Linked DNA regions of Homo sapiens: all the other regions are linked to region 1. The links are contacts of gene promoters, found by promoter capture Hi-C in blood cells and fetal thymus (Javierre and others, 2016). All regions are on one chromosome and are shown on one strand. Each heading gives the region's core, a stretch centred on a gene start or on the middle of the fragment in contact. The rest is flanking DNA. Distances are from core to core; before and after follow the strand shown. Region 1 holds the start of CEP120 (centrosomal protein 120). Region 2 holds the start of ALDH7A1 (aldehyde dehydrogenase 7 family member A1). Region 3 holds the start of PRRC1 (proline rich coiled-coil 1). Region 4 holds the start of MARCHF3 (membrane associated ring-CH-type finger 3).

Evidence for each region. Contacts are between HindIII fragments. The CHiCAGO score rates a contact against its expected background, and 5 or more counts as called.
Region 2: the fragment with the promoter of ALDH7A1 here is called in contact with the fragment with the promoter of CEP120 in region 1 in 1 of 17 cell types (M0 macrophages); the score reaches 5.1 in M0 macrophages.
Region 3: the fragment with the promoter of PRRC1 here is called in contact with the fragment with the promoter of CEP120 in region 1 in 2 of 17 cell types (non-activated CD4 T cells and fetal thymus); the score reaches 6.5 in non-activated CD4 T cells.
Region 4: a contact is called between the fragment with the promoter of MARCHF3 here and the fragment with the promoter of CEP120 in region 1, in 1 of 17 cell types (monocytes). The highest score is 8.8, in monocytes.

What each region holds. Positions count from the first base shown.
Region 1 is chr5:123,421,826-123,424,771 of GRCh38, forward strand. CEP120 (centrosomal protein 120) reads right to left here and starts at 1,578. Exons shown (of 20, transcript NM_001375405.1): 1 at 1,125-1,578. The coding sequence starts at 1,173. RefSeq lists an enhancer at 844-1,789 and a silencer at 1,119-1,278. The HindIII fragment of the contact is 3,797 bases long and covers 1,071-2,946 here.
Region 2 is chr5:126,593,755-126,596,533 of GRCh38, forward strand. ALDH7A1 (aldehyde dehydrogenase 7 family member A1) reads right to left here and starts at 1,465. Exons shown (of 18, transcript NM_001182.5): 1 at 1,253-1,465. The coding sequence starts at 1,444. The HindIII fragment of the contact is 2,913 bases long and covers 504-2,779 here.
Region 3 is chr5:127,516,136-127,519,074 of GRCh38, forward strand. PRRC1 (proline rich coiled-coil 1) reads left to right here and starts at 1,505. Exons shown (of 9, transcript NM_130809.5): 1 at 1,505-1,641. RefSeq lists a silencer at 1,373-1,442 and an enhancer at 1,503-1,682. The HindIII fragment of the contact is 4,735 bases long and covers 1-2,161 here.
Region 4 is chr5:127,028,883-127,031,845 of GRCh38, forward strand. It overlaps MARCHF3 (membrane associated ring-CH-type finger 3), which reads right to left and starts at 1,676. Exons shown (of 5, transcript NM_178450.5): 1 at 1,468-1,676. It overlaps LOC105379163 (a long non-coding RNA gene), which reads left to right and starts at 2,461. Exons shown (of 2, transcript XR_007058920.1): 1 at 2,461-2,963. RefSeq lists a silencer at 1,638-2,017 and an enhancer at 2,014-2,558. The HindIII fragment of the contact is 7,560 bases long and covers 1-2,963 here.

The DNA.
Region 1 (2,946 bases), core at 328-2,827:
ACAGTTAATAGTGCTCCAAATCTTTATGGCTTTTCTGGTCAGTCTCTTGTTCCAAAATTCAAAGATTAGGATTACAATGTTTCCTTTGCTCTCATCCCTCACACAGTGCCAGGCCTTTATAAAACACTCTCCCATGGGGGAAAAAATGCAGCCAGGCTTCTGCTCTGGCTCAAGATGACTCCTTCTTAACATACTATTCGTAAAGTGTCCTCAATTCACCTGTTATCTCCTATGCCCTCCACTTTCTTGCAAATCTGTTCTCCAACCACACTGAATTTAACCAATGTTTACTGAGTGAATTTAATTAAGCAAGGCAAAACGTGTCTTGCTTTTCCATACTTTAAGTGCTCCCTGCTCTTCTCTTTGCCTGGAATGCCCTTCCTTTTTTCACCTGACAAATTCCTAATCATCTGTAGGACCCCAAAAAATGCCACCTCCTCTAGTGAAACTTCCGCAGTTTCCTTAGACAGAGGTGGTCATTCATTAGGGTCTTCCACATCCTGATGAATTATTTGCTGACACACTCTCCTTGCTACATCCTTAGCTTTTTAGAATCAGGACTGTTTCATTCTTACATTCCCAGCACAGTGTCTGACACTCAATGAGTCCCAATAAACCAATGTCATTCATCCAAAACACACCTTTTAAGGAATGTATAATACACCCTCTTAAGAACTGTAGTCCCCTGAGTCCTCCAGCAAGACGTGTAAAGGGAATTGCCTCCGGAACACTTCTGGAATCGCAGGAAGCCTGTATTCAAGTCAAAGCTCTTACAAGTGCTATTATTGGGAACCGCTGATCAGAACGCGCTTCTCAGGACCACGTTCAGCTCATATATAAAAGCCATCGACGTGCTGCTTTGGATGAAAATCGTTTTCTCTAGATTCTCTGGGGCTACGGCTAGTCACGCTAAATATCACTTATCCCTAATAGCGCTCATATCCCTGGAGAGATTTTTAAATCAATTGCCTAACAGACCTCACTACGTACAACTTTGAACAAGTCTGTGGGGACCACAAAAGCACAGATGACAGGGTTCTTAAGGTTAACAAGGCCTCGGTCCCACACTAAGCTTTTAAAACTCGGGAGGCAGCAGTTGCAAAAGCAAGCCTCAGGCTGCTCACCTTCTAGGATGGACACGACGATGAGCAATTGGTCGGATTTGGAGACCATGGTTGCGGTGAGCGGTCCGGGGGCGAAGGCGGCTGGGGGGAAGTGAGGTCCAGTTGAGTCGCGGGTAATCCGGGACCCCCGGCGGGACCCCCACTGCCCGCCCCCGGTCCCTGATGCCCGGACCCCGCTCCGCAGCCAGGTCCCACCGCCGTCTGCTGCAGCGCGCCCGGCTCCTCTGCCTCGGGCCGCCAGCCCAGATCCTAACTGTGCCCCGACTCAAGGAAAAAGCCACGCTGCAGCCCTGCCAGTCTGCAAGCAGAGACAAGCCCGCCACCCGAGGACCTTTTGCCGCCTGCGTAGCCGCTTTTCAAACGCCCGGGCGGCCGCAGCGGCCGCCGCCGCGCCCAGCTTCCGCCTAGCAACCAGGCCCGCAGGCCCAGTGCCCAGGGGAGGTTGGAGGACAACGGGTGATAGAGACAGAGCAGTCAAGGCTAGAACGCCCGTCAGCGAGCTTCGCCTCCCGCCCTTTTACGCTCTGTTCCAGAGCCCTAAGGAGGACGCCTTCATTACCTCACAGCGCCCTCTGCTAGCCGGACGAGGAGAGGCGGGCGACTTGGTGTGGGACCAGCTGCGCAAGCGCACTACTGCTGTAAACGCTTCCTGAAGCTGCGTAGCCTTTAAGGAGCGTGAGTGTAGCGTATTACCTGCTTTATGCTTCAGCCACAACCTGAGAGTTATATTAGTGGGGATTAAAAAAACAAAAAAACCTAGCTTAGTTGACGTACCCAGTGTCAACACTGCTTAAAAAATTAAATCACAAAAAAATAATGACTTAAATCTAAACTCTAAAGTCCCTAAATCGTGCTCACGCGGCACCTCAAATTTCCGACCTTTGAAAACAAGTAGCTTCAATACGGTAATTACTGTACTTGTTAAAGCTGACGTAAACTCCCCGAGAATTTCCTGTCCCTTAGAAATTACCCCTAAAACAAAAACACTGTCACGTGGGCAATGAAATATAAAGGTTCTTCCACCCCCGATGACAAAGTTATTAGCAAACTCAAAACCAAAAATAAACAAGGCATTGAGGTGCTGTCTGCCGACCCTTTCCCCTTAACGTCTCCCAAATTCAGATTTAAGAAACGGTTCAAGACTTGTAAAGGGAACGGCCTCCTAAACACTACTCAAATTGCAAGAAGCATGTATTCAAGTCAAAGGCAAAGTTCTTTTGGAGGTTATCTAGCTTGAAACTTAAATAACCGAATTGGTTGGAGCGATCGTGGACACTATTAAGTTTGGGAAAAATTCTGCTTCGGAAAACAAAAGTAAATCATAATAAAATAAAGCTGCAGAGATAGCACTAGGTAGTGGACATAAGTGCGGCTTCTCCTATTACTTTCTGGTTTTGTAAATTGAGAAGTTGTTTTGAGAGCAAATATAATATCTCGCTGTTTTCTTTTTCTTCTATTGCTTCCTTGTTTTGGAAATTTAGAAGTTATTTTGAGAGCAAATAATATAATATCACTATTGTTTTCTTCTTCCTCTTCTTTATTCTTCCTTCTTTGCTTTCTGCCCAAAAGAAAAGGAGGAATATGTAGAGATTGGACTAATTACTTCTAAGGCCCTTTCAGGTCCTATCACAGGCATTCTTAAAATGAAGCACTATTCAATGTAAAATCAAAGTAATGATCTACTTTGGATTCATCATTGAACAATGCATTATTTTTGTGGAAGATGTCAAACATACTTTAAAGAAAGCAGAATGATATAATGAACCCCCAGTTACCCAGACCCCAGCTTCAACGATTATCAACTTAAGACCAATCATCTTCA
Region 2 (2,779 bases), core at 215-2,714, 3.2 Mb after region 1:
GCTCAGAGATGAAATGGCCAAGGCAGGAAAACTGTTGGAAAGTCCCGTGTCCACACCAACTGGAGAGGTCTCAGGTCAACAATGAAAGGGAAAATCAAGGCACAGCTAAAAAGGCCTCCAAGAGCCTAATGATCAGATACCACACGGAAATCAGGATGAAACACCGAGGTCTGAGGAGCAATTAAAATTATCTGTATCTCCTACAGCCACTGATTACCAAAAGACGTGTTCCCTCTACCAAGGCAGGTTCATTATATAATATACAACGTCCAACAAAGTTTGTTAACTGTTACATAACATCCTCCTATAAAAAACTTTCTTTTAAAAAAAAATCTGGGCGATAATAACCTTACCTTTCCATTGTATTCTATAAAACATTGTTTTGAGCAGTAATGGGTATCAGGCGCGGTGTTAAGCCCTGGGCAATGGAGAAATGCTGAAAATCCAGTCCTCAAAGGAGTTCACAGCCCAACGTACAACATGGCAAGATTTCGGCACGTCCAAGCTTGCAAACTCCCAAAGAATTCAGGAAGGAAGATAACTTAAAACTACACTGAAGAACGTTACCTGCGGTGCACGTCACAGCTGAAGAGCCAGAGTTAAGCTCTAAATTAAGATCAGTTGCACCGCTCAGTGTGCCACATTTCTCACAAGACCATAGATCCCAAGACCATAAGGTTTTAATTTTTTTTTTTTTTTTTTTTTTTGAGACGGAATTTCGCTCTTGTTGCTCAGGCTGGAGTGCAATGGCACGATCTCGGCTCACTACGACCTCCACCTCCCGGGTTCAAGCGATTCTCCTGCCTCAGCCTCCCTAGTAGCTGGGATTACAGGCATGCGCCACCACGCCCGGCTATTTTGTATTTTTTTTAGTAGAGACAAGGTTTCTCCATGTCGGTCAGGCTGGTCTTGAACTCGCTACCTCAGGTGATCCGCCCGCCTAGGCCTCCCAAAGTGCTGGGATTACAGGGGTGAGCCACCGCGCCCGGTAGACCATAATGTTTTAAATATGCGCGGGAAGTTTAGCCCCTACAGCTCCAAAATGACGTCGATTCTGCATAGCACACAAGGACCTAAAATCTAAGTTTTTGTTTTAAAGGCACCCTACACGAGAAAACTTTTACTGTGGAGCTTCAAAATCTCCCATGCTACTACCGCATCCAGCGCCAGCGGGGAGTCGGTAGGTCAGTGCCCGCCCGGCCTCCTCGAGCGAGCCCCGGCGGCTGCAGAGATTTCTTGAGCGCCCGCGTACCTCTCCCCGGCCTCCCCAGCTTCCATTATACACGCCCTCGTTTTCCTCGCGGAGCCCCAGCTCTTTCAGCCACGCATACTGGGGCTGATTGATGAGGAGAGTGGACATGAAGGCGGCAGGCCTGCTCCAAGGTCCAGAGAGCTTGCTGGTCTTTGCAGCGTGCACACACAGCGCGCGAGGAAGGCGCCACATACTGAGCCCGGGACTCGGGATGAGCCCAAGGCCCTGAGAGCTGCTGAAATAGAGCCCCGCCCCCCGCCCGGGAGAACCCATTGGGCAGACCCGACCCCTCCCACTGGGCACGACCCCGCCACCGCCCCGTCTGCCCCTGGTCTTCCGGAGGAGCCTGCGGCTGAATCCTGCCTGGAACAATGGGAGTGCTACAGGGAGGAGTGGGCTGCTGCCATCTGGTGAAAGACTCCGGGAGCCACAGTTCCAGCTGGGAATTCTTTTCAGCAAAATATTGGCGCTGAAGTACAGTAGGCTATAGCAGGGGTTCTGAAACTGTAAAATGCGTGTAATGACCTGGTCGTCGTGGTAAATGCACATTCTGATTCAGTAAGTCTGGGCTAGGGTCGGAGAGCCGACATTCCTAACCAGCTCCTCAGCGATGGTGACGCCTCTTGTCCCTGGAGTAGGCAACGGAGGGTTTGTATTGGGGGGCGGGGGAAGGGTTGGTTGTTTTCACTGTTTTGGTAGATTACAAATTAAAGTTTTCTAATTAATGATAAATATTAGATTGCTGCATTTCCTCTATAAATATCCTGCCTGGGTATATTCTTACTTTTTTTTTTTTTTTTTTTTTTTGGAAACGGAGTTTCGCTCTTCTTGCCCAAGCTAGAGTGCAACGGCGCGATCTCGGCTCACTGCAACCTCCGCCTACCGGGTTCAAGCGGATTCTCTTGCCTCAGCCTCCTGAGTAGCTGGGATTACAGGTGTGCACCACCACACCCGGCTAATTTTTTGTATTTTTAGGACAAACGGGGTTTCACCATGTTAGTCAGGCTGGTCTGGAACTCCTGACCTGAGATGATCTGCCCGCCTCAGCCTCCGAAAGTGCTGGGATTAGAGACATGAGCCACTGCGCCCGGCCTCTTACTTTTTTTTTTTTAAGATGGAGTCTCGCCCTATCGCCCAGGCTGGAGTGCAATGGCACGATCTCCACTCACTGCAACTTCAACCTCCCAGGTTCAAGTGATTCTCCTGCCTCAGCCTCCCCAGTAGCTGGGATTACAGGTGCACACCACCACACCAGCTAATTTTTGTATTTTTAGTAGAGACGGGGTTTCTCCCTGTTGGCCAGGCTGCTCTCGAACTCCTGACCTCGTGATCTGCCCGCCTCTGCCTCCCAAAGTGCTGGGATTACAGGCGTGAGCCACTGTGTCCGGCCTATTCTTACATTTTTTTTTTTTTTTTGAGACGTAGTCTCGCACTGTTGCCAGGGCTGGAGTCCAGTGGCGCAATCTCGGCTCACTGCAACCTCCGCCTCCCGGGTTCACGCGATTCTCCTTGCCTCAGCCTCCTGCG
Region 3 (2,939 bases), core at 255-2,754, 4.1 Mb after region 1:
TCTGTCTTTAGCACCACCCCAAACAGCACGATCCGGACAGTAACCTGGATCTCCACCTACACACATTCTTAGAGGATAGGAGCCACCGCCAAAGAAAACCGCCCATGGTAGTTGCACAGTGAGATCTGAAGTCAGAGTATTGCTACATAGTATTAACTTTTCAGTGAGGTATTTTGGAATGCTTACAACTGTGAAGCTCAAGAGATAGATTAATGTGAAATCTCTAAGTGAGTTCCTGAAAAAAAATTGAGAACAACAAAAACAATTTTTTATATATTTAATGCTAAGCAATTTAAAAAATGTTTTCGGACAGGTGCGGTGGCTCACGCCTGTAATCCCAGCACTTTAGGAGGCCGAGGCGGGCCGAGGTCAGGAGTTCGAGACCAGCCTGGCCAAAATGGTGAAACCCTGTCTCTACTAAAAGTACAAAAATTAGCTGGGTGTGGTGGCCTGTGCCTGTAATCCCAGCTACTCGGGAGGCTGAGGCAGGAGAATCGTTTGAACCCGGGAGGCAGAGGTTGCAGTGAGCCGAGATGGCGCCATTGCACTCCAGCCTGGGCAACAGGGCAAGACACCATCTCAAAAAGACAAAAAGTTTAAAAAATTTTCATATGCTCTATTTTATTTGAGTCTGTCACCTGCCTGATTTAGGGATGGTGGATAGTATTATTCTCAGTTTGCAGGTAGAAATATGAAGACTTATGGAGACTAAGTGACCTGTACAAGGGCAGGCAACTGTACAACTGGCATTAGAGTAGTCTCAGACTCAAATCAAGACTTCTGATTTGAAGTTCCTTATTTTCCTCTATCGCACTCCATTAATTTATTTAATGTACATTATTGAACACCAACTATTTCAGGTACTGTGTTAGGTGCAGCATATAATAAGAAAGTTGATAATCTGTCTATTTTACAATTAAAAAAAGAATGTGCAATACATGCACTTGGGGAAAAATTCAGTACAGTAACTGCTACTCTTCTCCCCTCTCCCTCTTCTCCTAATCCCTCTCTCCTGATATAATCACTGTTATCTGGAAATCTTTGACTATACAGGCTAAGTCCCCTGTATCTGCCGCGAGGTCCTTCCTGGAGGTGCTGACTGGACTAGCTGATGTTGGCTAGATGACCGCCAACCAGATGACCTTGGCTAACTGATCTTATCCCTTGGGCCGCTGTGGCACAGGATGAGTGAGCTACGCCTGGTAACAAGAGTGCCACTCTCGTGTAAGGGGGCTGCGAAGTAGAAAGGAGGCCAGCCCTTTGGAAGATGTTTCTAGAGGGTGTGGGCAGAACCAAGTCTCGGTAGTTAGGAAGATCTTGGCTCCAAAGTTTAACTTGCAGCGTCCCGGCCGGGTTCACAGCGCATGGGACAGGGGGGGCGGGGCGATGCGGAGGCGGAGCGGGGCGATGCGATGCGGGGCGGAGCGGGGCGGGGCGGCGACGCGCGGCGCGGTGCGGCGCGCGGCCGACGTGGCAGCCGCAGGAGCATGCGCCGCCCGTGGCCATCTTGTAGGCGGGGACACGCCGAGGTAACTTCCAGGGTGCGCCTTCGTTGTCTTCTCCAAGCTGTAGTTCTACGTCCCGACCTCCCTATCATACCACACTCTTCAGCGACCACGCAGGCACTTTCCCGGTCCCCAGGTGAGCGCCAGGTGGCTCCGAGGGGCGTGTATGAGGGGGGTGGCATGGCATGGCATGGCTTGCAGGCGCCAGAGCCAGACCCCGAGGGACGGTGTCCCTGGAAGGTGGGCGGGCCGGCCGGCGCCACTGGACGCCGATGTCGTTTGCGAGCCCCCTAGTCCCGTGGTCCAGGCTCAGCTGTGGCGGCGTGCGGGGTGCAGCAGGCAGGAGTGCACATCGCAAGGTGAGCAGTTTCCGCTGGGGATGGCACGGTGGGCGCGGTTCGAGGGTCTCGCCCCGCGACACTTTGCTCCTGTCCAAGGACCAAGGCAGGAGCGCTCTGGCCCCACCTTCCAGGGCGCTGACTTTAGGGGAGACTGGCGGGAGCGCCGGCGGACCTTAGCCCGGCCCTGTCTGGCCTGGAGACGTGGCAGAGCCTGAGGGGAAGCCGCTGTCTCCTGAAACAGGATTTCGGCCGCTCTGGCCCTGGAGAGGCCCAGGAGGCTCGAGAGTCATCACACCAGGACCTGCAATGAAAGGAAGCTTATTTTCCCTGAGGTTACCCCATCGGTGCTTAGCGCCGCTTGGGAGAGTTTTTGCATTCTCTCGTTTCTTTGTTTGGTCTTGGGACCTGCTTCAGGCAAATTTGCAGATAGCACGTTTCCTAGATTGACAGAATTTATAGCCAATAGTGTTTTTGTCATTCGAAGTAGTTATTTTGAGAGACAACATGTGCATTTCTGCGATCGTGACACATCTTGGCATTCAGTCTTTCTCCTGTGCAGCCAGTGTTTAATTCAGTGAAAATTTATAAAATTTTATTTCGGGGTCAGATTAGGCTCTAACTAGCGCTCACTGTTTGGTAGTAGAGACAATCTTGTGGCACGAGTAGGTCAGCAATAATTGCTCTTAATGCTTTAAAGTTTATCAGAGCTTCACTCTTCCATTTCTTGTAAACTTGTAAATAGACATCCACTTTTTTTTTTTTTTTTTAACAGAAAAACCAAGGCACAAGCAAATTGGAACAACAGGGTCTAGCCGGACTGAGAACTCAGTTTTCCAAACCATTTTCTTCACTTTTTCTTTAGTGTTGATATATGAATAGTACTTTTCGTGACAAGACTTGAGCCCTAAAACAGTTACCAACTCTGACACTTCAGTATTGTTTTATCATAATAGGTTTTTTTAGTAGAAGGCACTATGTTTATGCATGTAAAATTTACCTCAGTATTGCCATTACGGCAGTTTTCATATAAAAAGCCATTAAAGACAAAGAAATTGATTATTTATTCCACTTAATGACTTTGTATTCATTGTAC
Region 4 (2,963 bases), core at 426-2,925, 3.6 Mb after region 1:
ATGTTGTTTCTGCTAAGAGTTGCCCCCTACCCAGGCTCCACCCCAGTGGTCGGACTGAAGTGTACATGTTATGTTTTAACAGATGGGCCGGCTGGCGGCTGCTGGGCTGTAAAACAGGAACGCGGATTCTGCACTGAGTGGTATTGAACTGAACGCTCGTAAAGTTCATGGACATACTCTGACCCAGACAGACCAGGCAGATGCAGACATGCTTACGCATACACACTCACTAACACCCCACAGCTCAGAGGATCCATCTCTGTGACCCAAGGGAAGTTCAAGGCTGAATTTCCCCTTCATATATTTACCTCATTCACCTTTTAATTTTATATATACACACACTCACACATATACACGTATGTATGTGTGTATATGCGCATCTACATCTTCATATACACATACAGAACTATATATCTCAACATTTTCATGTATTTTCAAAGGTCTAAACATCCCCAAATTCTGGACCTGTTTCTGTCTAGTATTTTCAAAAGCTCTTATTCATGTCAAATAAGAATTGTAAGAAAATATCGTATTGAATTCTGTTTATTCCGCACATAATATAAACTACATGCATGTAGTTGGTCTCAGAAAAACAAGCTGCTTTTACCCCCTTACCATTAAGGGGGGAAAACAATCTAACCCAGACCGAGTCACAAACGGAGTGTCAGGTTTAACCTTGAGTTCTCTGCTGTCAATTCCTGACTCAACTTCATCACTTAAACACGCAGGTGCTCAAACAAACACCAACCGACCAGGCTGGCAATCCCTTTCGCAGCCTCTAGGATTCTCCAAGGCACTGGGCACCAGAACCGACAGCAGCTCCCGCCTGGTCCTAACGAAGTCCTTCGGACACCCCTTGCGGGTGGATGTGGAGGTCCGAGCACCTCAGGAGGGTCATGGATTCAAGTGCTAATAGAAAGCAATTACTTTAGAAAGTTCAAAGCCCAGCAGTGCTCTCAATTCCTCTCAGTAGCTGCAGAGCACTGAAGCCCCCGCTACAGAACCCGGCTGGTACTCCAGTTCTCTGGCGCTGAGACCCACCTTGAGCCCGATGAGCGCTCGCTCAGCCTTGAGATCCAGACGCGGACGCCGGGTCTTACCGTACCGCACAGCGCGGGTAATTTTTCAGGAACCGCGGTCCGCACGCCGCGGGCGCGGAGGCCGCCCCAGCGCTCCATGTCGTTGCCGCAGAGGGGCAGGGGACGCGTCCCGGCCCCACCTACCCATGTCAATTACGCCAAGTTGGTGCGGACTGGAACCGCGTCCCGGGCGGAGTTGGGATGCTTTGACAAGAAGAAGTTCGGGAGTGGGGATATTGGCACGGAGTAAATCCCGCCCAGCCCTGACCTCCCCACAGCGGTCACGCTCGGACGAACGGACCGCCGAGCGCCAGGACGCGTCCCGTCCCCTCTCGCCGCCGCCGAACCGCGCCGAGAGGAGCCGCTAGCCCGGCGCGCGGCCACTCACCGTCCTCGCCGAGTCCCGATAGCAAACCGACGTCCCTGCTGCGGTTCTAAGTGCCAAGTTGCCCCCAGTCGGTGGCTGCTCACGGCCCAGTGGACCAGGGCACATTGGTTCCGGCGGGCACCTCAGGGGGAGTGCGGCAAGCCTGGCGGCCGCCGCGGCCACACAGTCGCCCACAGCGCGCTGACAATTCACGGACCTGCTCAACGAGTGAGGCGGAAAGCAGGGCTAAGCCGACCAGGCTCTGGAGGGGAGGCGGGGCTGCCGCTAGGGGCGGAGCCAGCCCCGGGGCGTCATCAGCCCATGACTGGCGGAGCCGACAGCCAGTCGTGGTGGCGCTGGGACCGCCCCGTAACCGCCGTCCAGTCGCCTGCGGCCGAGGGCAGGCTGGCGGGACGCGCCGGCGGCGGGGAAGTTGGTTATTGCGAAGTGCCGTGGCTGCCGGCGGGCGCTGCGGGACTCTCTGCAATGGGACCCGAGCAGCTCTAGAGGGAGGCGGCGGCCCCAGAAGGCCGTTGGCTGAGAGAGACCAGGAGCCCTCGGAGCCGCCGCGCGCATAGCGCTGTGGAGCAAGAAGCCAACCGCAGCGCGGGTCGACACGCCAGTATCTGGCACCGGCAGGAGGCGCGGAACTTAGCTGCCCCATCGGAACCCCGCCCGGAGGAAGCTGAGGGCCGAGAAAGGATGAATTCCGGACCGGGTCGCCCAGCCACAAGTGGAAACCTGGGCTCTCTGGAAAACGTTCTGATCTCGATCTGGCTATCTCTGAAACAAAACTCCAGCCCCGCAAACCTCCCAAAGTTCAGTACACGTCCCCGTCCTCACCCCTGCCCTCCGGGCCACCTGCAGCGGGGGACTTACCGGCGCCTCGGGTCTCCTCCTCCCGACCCAGCGCGTCGCGGACACAGCTGGCGGCCAACAGGAGGCTTGGGCGCTCGACGGCGCCGGAACCTGTGAGACCGTCGCTCTGGGCGGGCTGCCGTGCGGGGTGGCATCCTCTGCGGTGACTTCTGCTGTCTTTTGGGTCCGCCAGGATTCCAAAATCCCAGGCGGGTCGCTAGAATTATCCATCTTCGTGGACAGGAAGCCCCAGAACGAACCACATCTGTCCCACTCTGCTTCCGCCCTCCTTCCCCTTCGCAAGCTCCTGGCTGGGATGGAGACATCGGACGAGCTCGGAGATCCCGACCTCTCAGGGGTCACTCGCAGCCGAACAGCCTGGAATATGGCCTTGTGGGCCCTTCCCGCCCAACCCCCTAGGACCCCACTGCTCATCTTGTCAACCAGTTTCTGAGCCCCTACCCTGGCTGCAGCACGTGCTCGCACAGGCGCGCTGAGCTACTAACATAGAATCAAAAGCAGGGAGTTGGGTGTTCTTGCTTTCCCGCTGAAACCTAGAATGTAAACAAGCCCTAGACCGTCAGCTGTGGGTGGGTAGGGGCCTCTCCCTGCCTAGAACTGCTCTTGCCATGGGTAGGCACCTAACCCGTATTAGTAAG